Regions from separate parts of the Homo sapiens genome. Here region 1 is linked to region 2. Evidence: promoter capture Hi-C in 16 types of primary human blood cells and fetal thymus (Javierre and others, 2016). All regions are on one chromosome and are shown on one strand. The core of a region is centred on a gene start or on the middle of the fragment in contact, and the rest is flanking DNA. Distances in the headings are between cores, read along the strand shown. Region 1 holds the start of TBC1D5 (TBC1 domain family member 5). Region 2 holds the start of RAB5A (RAB5A, member RAS oncogene family).

Region 1 (5,743 bases), core at 959-3,458, 2.2 Mb before region 2:
TTCTAGGCAACTGAATTAAGAAAAAGAGTAAATCTGCAATTACTGAATATTTTCCTGGAGTTAGCCACAGAAACCACATGCAACACTGGACAATGACTGAATGACATTATCTTTAGATGTTTTTCATCCAAACTAATGGACATTCAGAAAAAAAGGTGATCCTGTACTAGGCTTCGCAACACTACCCTTGAAAGATTTTAACCAATCCTTTCACACCATCACCAAAGACATGTTTTTTTCTACAGCCCTACTTTCTTGTTTTGAAAGATCTGAGCTGTCAAACTATATTTATTTGCATTTAATTCTCCAAAGGGATAAGAGCATTACTATACCAATTTTGTATTTTCATCCAAAAAGTACAAACTCTGCTTTCTTGGCCCATAGAGCCTTATCCCAAATAAACTGTACAATCTCCAAAAATATAGTCAGTCTTGATTATATAGATATGATCTACCACACTGTAGATTATCCACAGAATATCTATCACTTACGTGATAGCATTAAGGGCTTTAAACACACACTCACACATACACACACACACACACACACTCTCTCTCTCTCTCTAATTCTCAAAGTTACTATTATTTTCCCCATTTTAAAGATGAGAAAAGTGAGGCACTGTGAGACTAAGTAGCTGACCAGCATGGCATTATAACACATATCATAATCATACAGAATTTGTAAAAATATTAAAATTATTATTAATAGCTGAAAATACCAATTAGAAGGCTTCCATCATTCGGATGTGCAACAAATGCTTCCCTGGGATAACCGTAAGTAATGACTTGGCCATTCAGCTGTGAGGCCCAGAAAGCATGGCAGAGCTGGTATGTCCATGCAGCCCACAACACAGCATCAGGGTAAGAAATAAAAAAGCCAACAAGTGGGCATGCAGCAAGGGTTTCAACTCTATCCTAATATTCCAAAAGAACAAGAGAGAATTTGGGACAATCTTAACCTCTGATGATAATCTCTGAGCCTCTTTTTATCCCTCAATTTATATAATGTTTAATGTTACTAAATCATTGCACAGGAATTATTTTTAAATGTTTACCTAACATTTGTAGAATGATAAACATTTTCCTAAACACTTCACAGGTTTTTGAGAAAGCATTTACACTGAGATTTGTTGTTACACTGACATCCTTCCCAAATTCACCATTATTCTAGTAATAATTGATGCTACTAGAAGCAGCCCACAGGCCCTCTCCGTCAAATGATCTCCCTCCCCTCTCCCAGCTCTTCCACTGCTGACCATCCCACCACCCCGACCTCACATTTCTCAAGTTCTGGTACACACACTGTACACACTGCCATTCCAATGATCTACCCATGTTGAGAGAAATGTCTCAGGATCAGGTGGACTAGCACCACTTCTCAGACTGCTGCTGCTAACAGGACAAAGCTTTCAGTGGTCTGAGACAAAAAGGGGGTTAAGAGAAGGGATTATATATTCATTTTTAAATGAAACATAAATTATTCAACTTACTTTTATTCCGGGGTTGTCCTTCTTACTTTTTCAGCGTTAAAATGTGATAATGACCAATGCTTCATTTTCTGTATCGTCCTCATTGGCCAAATAAAAAGTCAGAAACCCAGTCAATCCCTAAACCTAAAGGTTAGGATAACAAACACTAAATCTACTACGCATACATGTAGGGTGGAGGACAAGCCCAGGCAGGAAATAAAGGAATAAAAAACTTTCAGAGGAAGTAGATACTTTTACATTTAACAGTGACTACTGGTCCAGTGAACAAGTGCAAGCAAAACGAAACTGCAAATTTCAGTATCTCACTCAGAAAAGATTACAAGCACTGAGGCGGATGACAAATTTGACTTTTAAAATGAAAGCAGGCCAGGCGCGGCCTGGTGTGATCCTGGTGGATCACGTCTGTAATCCCAGCACTTTGGGAGGCTGAGGCAGGCGGATTACTTGAGGTCAGCAGTTCGAGACCAGCCTGGCCAATATAGTGAAACCCCGTCTCTACTAAAAATACAAAAATTAGCCGGGCATGGCGGTGGGCGCCTGTAATCCCAGCTCCTGAGGAGGCTGAGGCAGGAGAATCGCTTGAATCTGGGAGGCGGAGATTGCGGTGAGCTGAGATCGCACCATTATACTCCAGCCTGGACAAGAGCGAAACTCCTTTTCAAAAAAACAAAAAACAAAAAAAAAAAGGTAGGCCGAGCACAGTGGCTCACACCTGTAATTCCAGCACCTTGGGAGGCCGAGATGGACACATCACTTGAGGTCAGGAGGTCGATACCAGCCTGGCCAACATGGTGAAACTCCTCCGTCTCTACTAAAAAAGAACATACAAAATAAAATTAGTCGGGAGTGGTGGCGGGCGGCTATAATCCTGGCTACCTGGGAGGCTGAGGCAGGAGAAGTGTTTGAAACCATGAGGGAGAGGTGGCAGTGAGCCGAGATCGAGCCACTGCACCACTGCACTCCAGCCTGGGCGACAGAGCGAGAGTCCGTCTCAAAAAAAAAAAAAAGTCAAGTTCCGTAAAGCACTTACAACAGTGTCCGGCACTCAGTAAGCGCTTCAGAAGTACTGTCATAAATATCAAAGGACTGGAATGAAAATTATAAAAATTATGGTACTAAAAACTTCCACAAAGTTATTTAGAAGTACAACCTCTGCTCAGTCAGTTGGAGTATAAATAAAAAGAAAAAAATTAAAAGTACAACCATTTCTCCATAAAGTGTTATGAAGTTATGTGTGACATTTCTAAACTTTTTAATTTACGTGTGAAAAAATTACATTAGAAAAAACCTGAATCCAGTTAGAACACCCACTGTACGACTCTCAATTGTTTGCAAATTTGCTTCCAAAACTCAGGAATGCACTACTCAACTGAGGCCGCATTTGAGAGCACACACTCAATACTTCCTCCAATAAAAGAAATTTTCATCTCAGCTGTACACTCAGAGACCAGGATTTTTTTCGCCTATATGTTGATAAAACCCAATGACGCATAGCTGAGCAAGTCTTTCACCTAACAGCACACCAAGCTTCTAATGGAAAATTCACAGACCAGGTGATGCAGTCACCATACAGCATACAGACACAATATTTGCACTCTTCCTATCCCCTCCCCTGGAATCCAGACTCAGCCTGCTCACTCTGAAAGCTTTCTCAGTTCATCCTGCCATTTGCCCCTTCTCCCAAGCCACCTCTACACCCGGGGGTGAGTTATTAAAAAGAACATGTTTATTGATAAATACAACACTTTATTTATTTGCACACAAGTTATCCACTTCCTTGCTACTCAAAGATAGTCCCTTGTCCAGCTGCACATGTTATCAGAAATGTACAATATCAAAATGCACCATAGGCCTACTGAACCAGAAAATGCATTTTTAATAAGAGCCCCAAGTGATTCCCACCCACATTAAGGTTTGAGTGTTCTGTGATACTGCAGATAGCTGTAAAAATTAAAAATGCTCAAGTTTACAAATGAATTCAGAGATATGGTATGAAAAGTACCAAGACACGGAATCAGAAAAGCCCAAAGAGAAAAACCAATATATAAATGAATTTCTTTGCCACCGATAGCAAAGGCTCATTTTTCAACAATACCTATTTATTGCTTCCTGCTTTAAGTATTTTGTGCAAGAGCACAACACTTATAAAGGTTTACAAAAGAATTACCGGGTCTAGAAATTCCAGGCAACCTGGTCCAAACGTGTGAAACCTGCATGTTAAAATCTTAGGATTTTGTCCAATTCAGAGTTGACAAATGAACTCTTTCCAGAAAGTTATTATTCGAAAAAAACCTACAGGATGTTAACTTTAAACACAGATTATAATTCCTGTAACTAAAACGAGTAACTGGTATCGAACAAATTCTAGGTCACTTGTAGAATCGAATCTTGTAGTGAAGGTCTGTGTGTTTTTCCAGGAAAAGTCGGGGTGGGGAGCGGGATTTGCCCTCCCTGCGAATTTTTTTTTTTTTTTTTTTTTTTTTTTTTTTGCTCTTATCCTGAAAGACCTCCGTTTCTTACGTGTGAATAAACTTAAGTCGTACTAAATCCAGGTCACGGTTCCCTTCCTCAAAAGTGAAGTCAAGGCTTCTCTCTTCTAAAGACTATTAAGGTTTGAGGATTCAGGGCCCGTTTCGCTTCCGGCTAGGGAAGGAAGCGTGCTTCCCGGGGCCCAAATGAACATGGAAATTTACTAAGTAGGAAGTTGAGCACTAGTCCAGCCGCCAGGCCCTGCCTTTACTGCAGTTGGCCTTCCAGTCTAGACCCCGACCTCCTGGGGCAGGGAAAGCAGGCAGACTGCAAGCAGCCACCCCGCCCAGCTCGCCCTGCCCGCCCTGCCCGCCAGGGAGCTGAAGGGTCCACCCCTCCCGCCATCCACCCCCGACGCCGACTCCGAGGCGCACAAACGGGGGGCGGTGCGGCAACCCGTCCGCCGTGGCGGCGGCACCCTCAGGCCCTCCCGTGAGAAGGCGGCGGCGGCTGCGGCTGCAGCAGCGGCGCGAAGGGGGGCGAAACCTGTCCTGAGGCTGAGTGGGAGGCCGGGGCGGGAACGACTGCATGTGGGGCTGCACTGGAGGAAGGCGGAGGCGTTCAGAGGGCTTGGGCTTTTTTACGATCATCATCATTATTTTATTTTACCTGTGGCGCAGAAGGGCTCCCCAGCTCCTATTCCCTGAATCCTCCTCCTCCTCCCCTCCTCTTTCTCTCTCTCTCCCTCAGTCTGCAGGGCGCTCGCGGAAGCGGCCGGGCCCGGCCCGACCTGAAAGAGAACAGGGCGGGAGGGGGTGGCGGCGGTGACCAGCGGCCACGTGACCACGCTCGCGCCGTAACGGCGGCCGCCTCCCGCCGCGCGCCCTCCCCGCGCTCCACCTCTAATAACCTCGCGGCCCGCGCGCCTGGGAAGCTCGTGCGCAGGCGCCCGCACGGGACCTGAAGTCTGCGCGCGAGCGCAACGCGCTCGCTCTCGGGTCCGGGTTTCTGGGGCCCGCGAGGCGCGAGAAGCGAGTAGGTGGGGAGTGAGCCGCGGGCAGAGCTCTCCTTGGCTGAGCCGGCAGGCTGCTGAGCGCATGCGCCTGAGGGCTTTTACCCCTCCCTTCTCTCCCTGCTTCCAACCGGCGCGCGGCTGGAGGCTGGGAACCAGCTCCTGGGTCTTAGTCAGAGGTTCACATCCACCAACTATCTTCCCAGGGTTGGACTGAGAAGGGGAGCAGAGGGTCCCAGGGACTCTCCTGAGATCCTGGCTCTCCTGCCAAGGAATTTACATTTCCTTGTCACAGGTAAATGGCCTTCCATGCCACATTTTTCTGTGGCTGAGTAGGCTTCTAACTCAGCTCATCTGTCACTTTCTCCGTGAAACTTACCCCTGCCTACTTTAGAGGAGTCACTAGCACTTTGTGCAGACCTACCTTGTAGTACAACCCATAGAAAGATAAAGGTTAGGAGTTATTTTTTCACAAGCCCACAATACTAGACTGTGGTTTCTATCTTTATCTCATAAACTTGGACAGGGTCTTCAGTGTTGTAGTATCTCCCTAAACGTCTGATGACTATCAGAACACAGGGAATGTCTAAAACTTTTATCGTTGCCCTTGGTCTCTGCATAATCATGATTTAAGATCCCCTTTAACCCAAGCACGTGGGAAGGTGGTGTTTGTTTCCCCAGTATGAAAGCCTTTAAATCATAATGTTAATTAGAGTGGTAAATGCTTCACTTAGTAAAAGAGATTTATGGTATTTTATTAGCTTATCTTCACA
Region 2 (6,121 bases), core at 3,337-5,836:
AGGATCGGGGGAAGATAGTTTTAGGACAATTCAAGCACATTACATTTATTGTGCACTTTATATTATTATTACATTGTAATATATAATGAAATAATTATATAACTCACCATAATGTACAATCAGTAGGAGCCCTGAACTTGTTTTCCTGCCACTAGACGGTCCCATCTGGAGGTGATGGAAGAGAGTGACAGATCATCAGGCATTAGATTGTCATAAGAAGTGCTAGATCCCTTGTGTGTGCAATTCACAATAGAGTTCACACTCCTATGAGAATCTAATGCTGCCACTGATCTGACAGGAGGGGGAGCTCAGGTGGTAATGTGAATGATGGGGAGCAGCTGTAAATACAGATGAAGCTTCACTGACTTGCTGCCACTCACCTCCTGCTGGGCAGCCAGTTCCTAACAGGCCACAGTCCAGTACCAGTCCATGGCCCTAGAGGACACCTTTCTGGACAGAAGTTTTTTTTATCTCTCCCTTGTATTCTACTTGGACCTTGGGCCTGCCAACATTATTCACTACCATGAAGGGCCAATGCTTCATATCAGACTGGACAACAGCATAATCAAGTCTGTGTCCAATCAGCAATCAGATTTGGCATCAAAAACTGTGTTCATGGGGTTCATTGCAACTTGATTCTTTGTGGCATCACTGAGCAATTGTTCAGTATCAGTAAAGGTGACATAGCTTGGAGTGATTCAATTTCCCTGATCATTGGCAATTACCTCTATTTTTACATGCTGGAAAACACCCACACAAGAGTAGATGGTGCCAAGATGAATACCAACTGCAGGTCCTTTAAACAGGGTTGTTTGCATGTAGGCCGGATTGGATTCTGAAGAAAGACATAGGAACCCCAAAAGTGGCCACAGCATTCAATAAATCCCCATAAATTCTTCAAATGACTTTGCAGTATGTAAATCCAGGTAAGGGCTCATTCAATTCATTCATTCATTCTACAAACAGGTATTGAGTCCCTCCCTATTTTGTGTCAGTGTTGGGAATACAGTTAGCCCTCTGTATTCCATCGAAAGTATTTGAGTTAAAAAATGAAAAAAACACAAAATAATACAAATTAAAAAAATACAACTATTTACATATCATTTACATTGTATTACTTATTGTAAGTAATCTGAAGATGATTTAAAGCATACAGAATAGCCTACATGCAAATACTACACCATTTTACATGAGACTAGAGCATCTGCAAATTTTGGTACCCATATGGTGGGGGAATAAGGGAGTGTCCAAGAACCAATCACAAGCAGATGGACTGACTGTATAACCCAACCCCTATCTCATGGAGCTTATATTCTAGTAGGGATAGATAACCATTAAGTGGAACGATGCGTAATATCATATCAAATGGTGCTAAGTGTTATGAAGACAATGCATAATATCATATCAAACAGTGCTGTTATGAAGACAACAGACTACTTCGATATGTAACAAAGCATTTAGAATTAGTGGGCTTAGAAGTCCCTTAGGTAGATGACATTTGAGCTGAAGCCTGAATGATGCCCTCCAAAGACACAAGCTTTTGAAACATGACTAGCTTAAGTTTTCACAGCCTTTTATTCACTGACTTGCTACTACGCCAATGTTAGAGTTACCGTTGGTTTGTCTCCAGGAAAAATTTTGAATTGTCTCCAGACAGTTCCAGTTAAAAGTAAATGTAACCATTCATTATCATCTATGCAAAGATTCATTCTTTAGCTACACAAGGGAGGACAGATTTCCTGGAAGAGAAGGAAAAGGTTATGGGATCCTGTGAATGGTAGAGAGACACCTGCCACTGGGAATTTGTTATTGAGTATTTAGAGATTTGAGGGCAGTATAAGCATCAAAGACAGTGTTTAAGTCTTCATGATTATTTATCCATTTTGTACCTTCCTTAACAAGTTCTATCAACTGGTAGGACTCCACATTTGACACTAAAATATATACAATTATCAGTCCTCCTCAGTTATCTGGGGCTATGAAAAAGAAAACATAGGCATATTGCAAGTGGCAATAAAACAACAGAGCTTTACTGTGTCATTTCAATTTCTCTAAAACTACTACCGGATCTTTAGAAATGCCAGCCACCAGGGCAGCACTCTTCCAGGCAAACATTATGACTAAACTGTAAAATATTGTGAAAAGTATTCATGAAGGAGGTGAAGACAAAATCACTAAACAGGAACGAGTGAAGAAGCAACATACTGGAACGATGAAATAGGGAGTTTTTTGCAATTTATAAATTTCAGCATCAAATGTTTTTCATTGTGAGGTCTTCTTAATGTTCGTGATTCTAAATGTAATTAAGTTCACCAATACTTTGGGGGTCCCTATTATAGCAGTCAAGGGTCTTCTGTGAAGAACTGAAATGATGAATAACTGATGGTCACAGCCCTTAAAAACCTTATAATTCAATGAAAGGCTAAGGAGAAAAGTCCAGGTGCTCATTAGCTATTAAAATAAGGCAGATTTTAAGACAGCCATTATACAGAGTAAGGCAAAGTATTGTGAAATTACAGAAAAAATAATAATTGAATCCAGTAGAAGTATCTGCAGATGCGGTCCAAAGGAACTGGTGTCCTGGCTAAGACGGAGCCAGCAGTTATGGGCAATGATAGTGTTCCATGTGGAGAAAATAAAGTGATCAGATACCAAGATGGCAACACACAGGCAATATTCAGGGAACACAGACCAGATACGTGTGATCAGGGAACAAATAAAGAGTATGGGGAGAGGAATTCTATAGAAATAGAATGAAAGAAACTTGGGTTGGGACTAGAGTTAAAGAACTTTAGACTGTCAAGTAATGACATAGCATTGAACATTTTTTAGTAGAGTGGCTAAAATGTAAAGAATGGACAGAAAGAACAGCAGTATGCATTAATTTCAGTTTATATAAACACTACCATGGACCAGGTGTTGGGATTAGACTTCAAATTTGGGGATTAGATAATTTGTTGATAGAATGGACAATGGTTTGTGAGGAGAAGAAAGAGGTGAAGCTGATTCTGCAGTTCCAAGTCTGGGTGACTGGGAGGATGTTAATGCCAGTCTCTAAGCAGAAGCAGGTTTGGAGTGGAATAGGTTTCGTTTTGGGCATACTGTTGACATGACAAAACTGATGTCACATATCCTATTTCCTGACTCCTCCTGGGATTGTCCCAGAGCTATTACCATGATTAATAGTTCATATTGAACAACTCCTTGAGAATAAAATGCCACAGGTATCATTTACGTATGACACATTACGTTCTTCTGGCAACTAGGTAGTTGATCTGAAAGACGGGCTGTTCAAAGTTCAAATCATCTTAATTGCACAATGCCGCCGACTGTACGCCCATAAGATACCTTAACCCGGTACACTTCAAAGACAATATTCTCGCCCTTACAACAGAGCTATACATTGTAAACTGCAAACTGAAAAGTAGCCTTTATTCTGAAGGAAAATCAATTTAATATTCTTCCACTAAATTATCAAAACAATTTTTTTGGCGGAGGCTGGGGAGGGGGTGGTGGCTGAAGCCTCGCCAGAGACTGAATGTGGTGTGGGATTCAACTAAAGCAGCACATCTTCAGTAGGTCCCCCGTGGAGGGTAACGAACATCTTGGGTTGTCTTTCACCAGAATTGTGTTCAACAACTCACGTTCTGGAGCCAACCCGCCGCAGATCAGAATCCAGCTTCTGCACCACACAGCCGTGATCTCGGACAAGTTACTCAATCTCTTGTGTCTCAAATTCTTTACCTATAAAACATCTACAACTAGAACTGAAGACTTGGCTGCCAGGCACTGGGCTAGACATAGATTTACAGCGGTGAGGACCACCAAGGGGAGCTAAAATTCGAATGTAGGGAACAGACGATTAACAAGTTAGTTTCAGAATGAAAGACTCGAGTGTAAGAATTCAATGGGATAATTCCTGTAAAGCGTTTAGTACAGTAAAGAGCGAAGGGAAATTCTGAATAAAAGGCAGACACTATTTTAGGATTTGGCCTTCCCCGCCCCCTACCAAAACCACGTAAACTCTTAACAGAAGCGACTTCTTATTGTCAGGCGCCTAAAGGCGGCTTTTGGGATAGGGAGGGTCCTTTCTTCCTCCTTGGGGTAAATGCGATTTAGCAGCCTTTACCGACCTACCCAACCCCAGGGCCATTTTGTGGGAGGAGGTTCTCTCGTGCTAGACAAGTTCCCTCTAATAAAGCCCCTTAGCCGAGATGCCAGGATTGGGGTTAGGGAACCTCGCCGCTCCCACAAGGGCTGGGCACAAAAAACAAACAAAAAAACACAAGTTATTTTGATCTTCCCCCAAAGAATAGTAAAGGAATTTCCCCCGACCCCGGCCGCCAGGAGCCCAGAGACCCCCCAGCCTAAATAACAATGGCGCTGGAGAGGGCGTGGCCGCGCGTACCTGGGGTGGGGGAAGGGGAGAAAGGCGGCCAGTTCGGATCTGAGCCACTCGCAGGGTCACGTGACATCCTGCCTCGCCCCGCCCCGCGAACAAACCTAGGCGGGGAGGGATTCGGGAAGGGGCGAGGAAGCGGAAGGAGCAGGCGGACTGGCGATGATGGGAAGTGACGAAGTGGCGCAGTTCGCTGCGTGCAGCGACGTGGCGGCGGGGCCGGCACCGGGCAGCGGAAGTGGCTCCGGCGGTGGGACTTGAGTGTTTGTGTTTTGGTTCGTGAAGGAGCCGGCGGCTGGCCTTAGGGGAGGAGGCAGAGGGAGGAGGAGGAGGAAGAATTAGTCGGAACTCCAGCGCCGGCGGCGGCGGCGGCGGCGGAGGAGGAGAAAGGAAAGAGGAAGGGGGAGCGGCGAGAGGCGGAGACGGAGCCCGACAGGGGCGGCACCACGGCACGAGCCCCGCACAGTCCAGTGTGAGGGGAGCGGCGCTAAGAGCAGGCGACGCCGCCGCCGCCACCACCACCGCCATAGATACACTCTCATCCTACGGGCCACGCCTGGGCCTTGCTGCCAGGAAGCTTCGGCCCCGCAGCTCGGCTTGCTGCGGTCTCAGGTAACCGAACCGCCCCTCCTCCTGCGCAGCGGGGGCCTGGACCCCAGGTTATCCGCGGTCCCCAGCCTGTCCGCGGCCCTGCCGGTACTGAGACCCCCCACCCCTTCTCCCTCACGCGCAGCAGTGCCCTGGACCAGAGAACTATCGAACCCGGCGTCTTGTTCTGCCAGCCCTGGTGACTCATCCTCCAGGGGCTCTGGAGACCGGGATTTGGGGACTGACTGAGGGAGCGACGGGTGTCACCCTTTCCCTTCTCAAGATGGCGCCGTGGAAAGTGTACTGGAGGCCGCGGTTCCGCCTGGTCTCCGTCCTGGCAGTCCTGGGGGTCTCGGTCAAAGCAAGGCAGGTTCGGGGGAGGAGGTTGGAAAGGCCAAGGGACCTGGCGAGTGCTGCTTATCCAGGCGATCTGTAGTTGGCTATTAGCTACTCAGGTGCTCTCCAAGCAGGAACCTGGGCCTACTGCAGGTGTCAATGTGGGGAGCTCCGCCTATCTTCAACTTCCAAAGATGAGTAGTGTCGGTGGGTGGGAGGCTCGTCAAAATAGGCTGTCTAGAGACTTGTTTTCTGTTTGGAAGGTAGTGAACTACAGCGTTAAATAAATTCAAGATAACAGGACCGCTGAACTCCTTCACTGGGTAGAGACCATGGAACTTGCTCTGGCGTTATCTTCCCTGGAAGCTGCTTACCTCTGAGACTTTCAAACTTGTTAAGTTCTGAACGTCATAGTTCACATACTTGGTTTTTGTCTTGCTTAAATGGAATCAAAGCGTTCAATCAGTTGCCTTTCACATAATAAGAAAAAAACACTTGTACACCTCTGGGAATACTCAAGACTGCTCATAAACTTTATTCCTAAAGTAAAATGGAAGTGATAACTCAGCATTTGTATAAACAAAGTAAATGGAACAGTGCCTGGCACAAAATAAGTGCCCAGTCAATTTTTTGATCAAAGAACCCTTAGAAGGATTTTAACTATAGAATGAATAACAGTTATTTTCAAAAGATTACAAATGTATATTATGCAAAATTCTTGTTTTGCAAAACAGAAGTTTCAGTAAGCAGTGAATACAAATGAATGCACGTAATTTTTAACCTTAGTGTTATGCTAAG

Evidence for each region. The method cuts DNA at HindIII sites, captures the fragments that hold promoters and counts their contacts. A CHiCAGO score of 5 or more calls a contact.
Region 1: a fragment that was not itself captured here is called in contact with the fragment with the promoter of RAB5A in region 2 in 1 of 17 cell types (non-activated CD4 T cells); the score reaches 5.1 in non-activated CD4 T cells.

The regions. Positions count from the first base shown.
Region 1 is chr3:17,737,854-17,743,596 of GRCh38, forward strand. TBC1D5 (TBC1 domain family member 5) reads right to left here and starts at 4,778. Exons shown (of 23, transcript NM_001349074.2): 1 at 4,628-4,778. It overlaps LOC105376975 (a long non-coding RNA gene), which reads left to right and starts at 5,091. Exons shown (of 2, transcript NR_135536.1): 1 at 5,091-5,265. RefSeq lists silencers at 4,265-4,464, 4,695-5,004 and enhancers at 4,464-5,167, 5,125-5,194. The HindIII fragment of the contact is 1,611 bases long and covers 1,404-3,014 here.
Region 2 is chr3:19,942,511-19,948,631 of GRCh38, forward strand. RAB5A (RAB5A, member RAS oncogene family) reads left to right here and starts at 4,587. Exons shown (of 6, transcript NM_004162.5): 1 at 4,587-5,011. It also overlaps a transcript of EFHB not described here and the pseudogene HSPA8P18. RefSeq lists enhancers at 3,468-4,069, 4,480-4,649, 4,575-4,744, 4,606-4,655, 5,176-5,225 and 1 more. The HindIII fragment of the contact is 3,439 bases long and covers 1,536-4,974 here.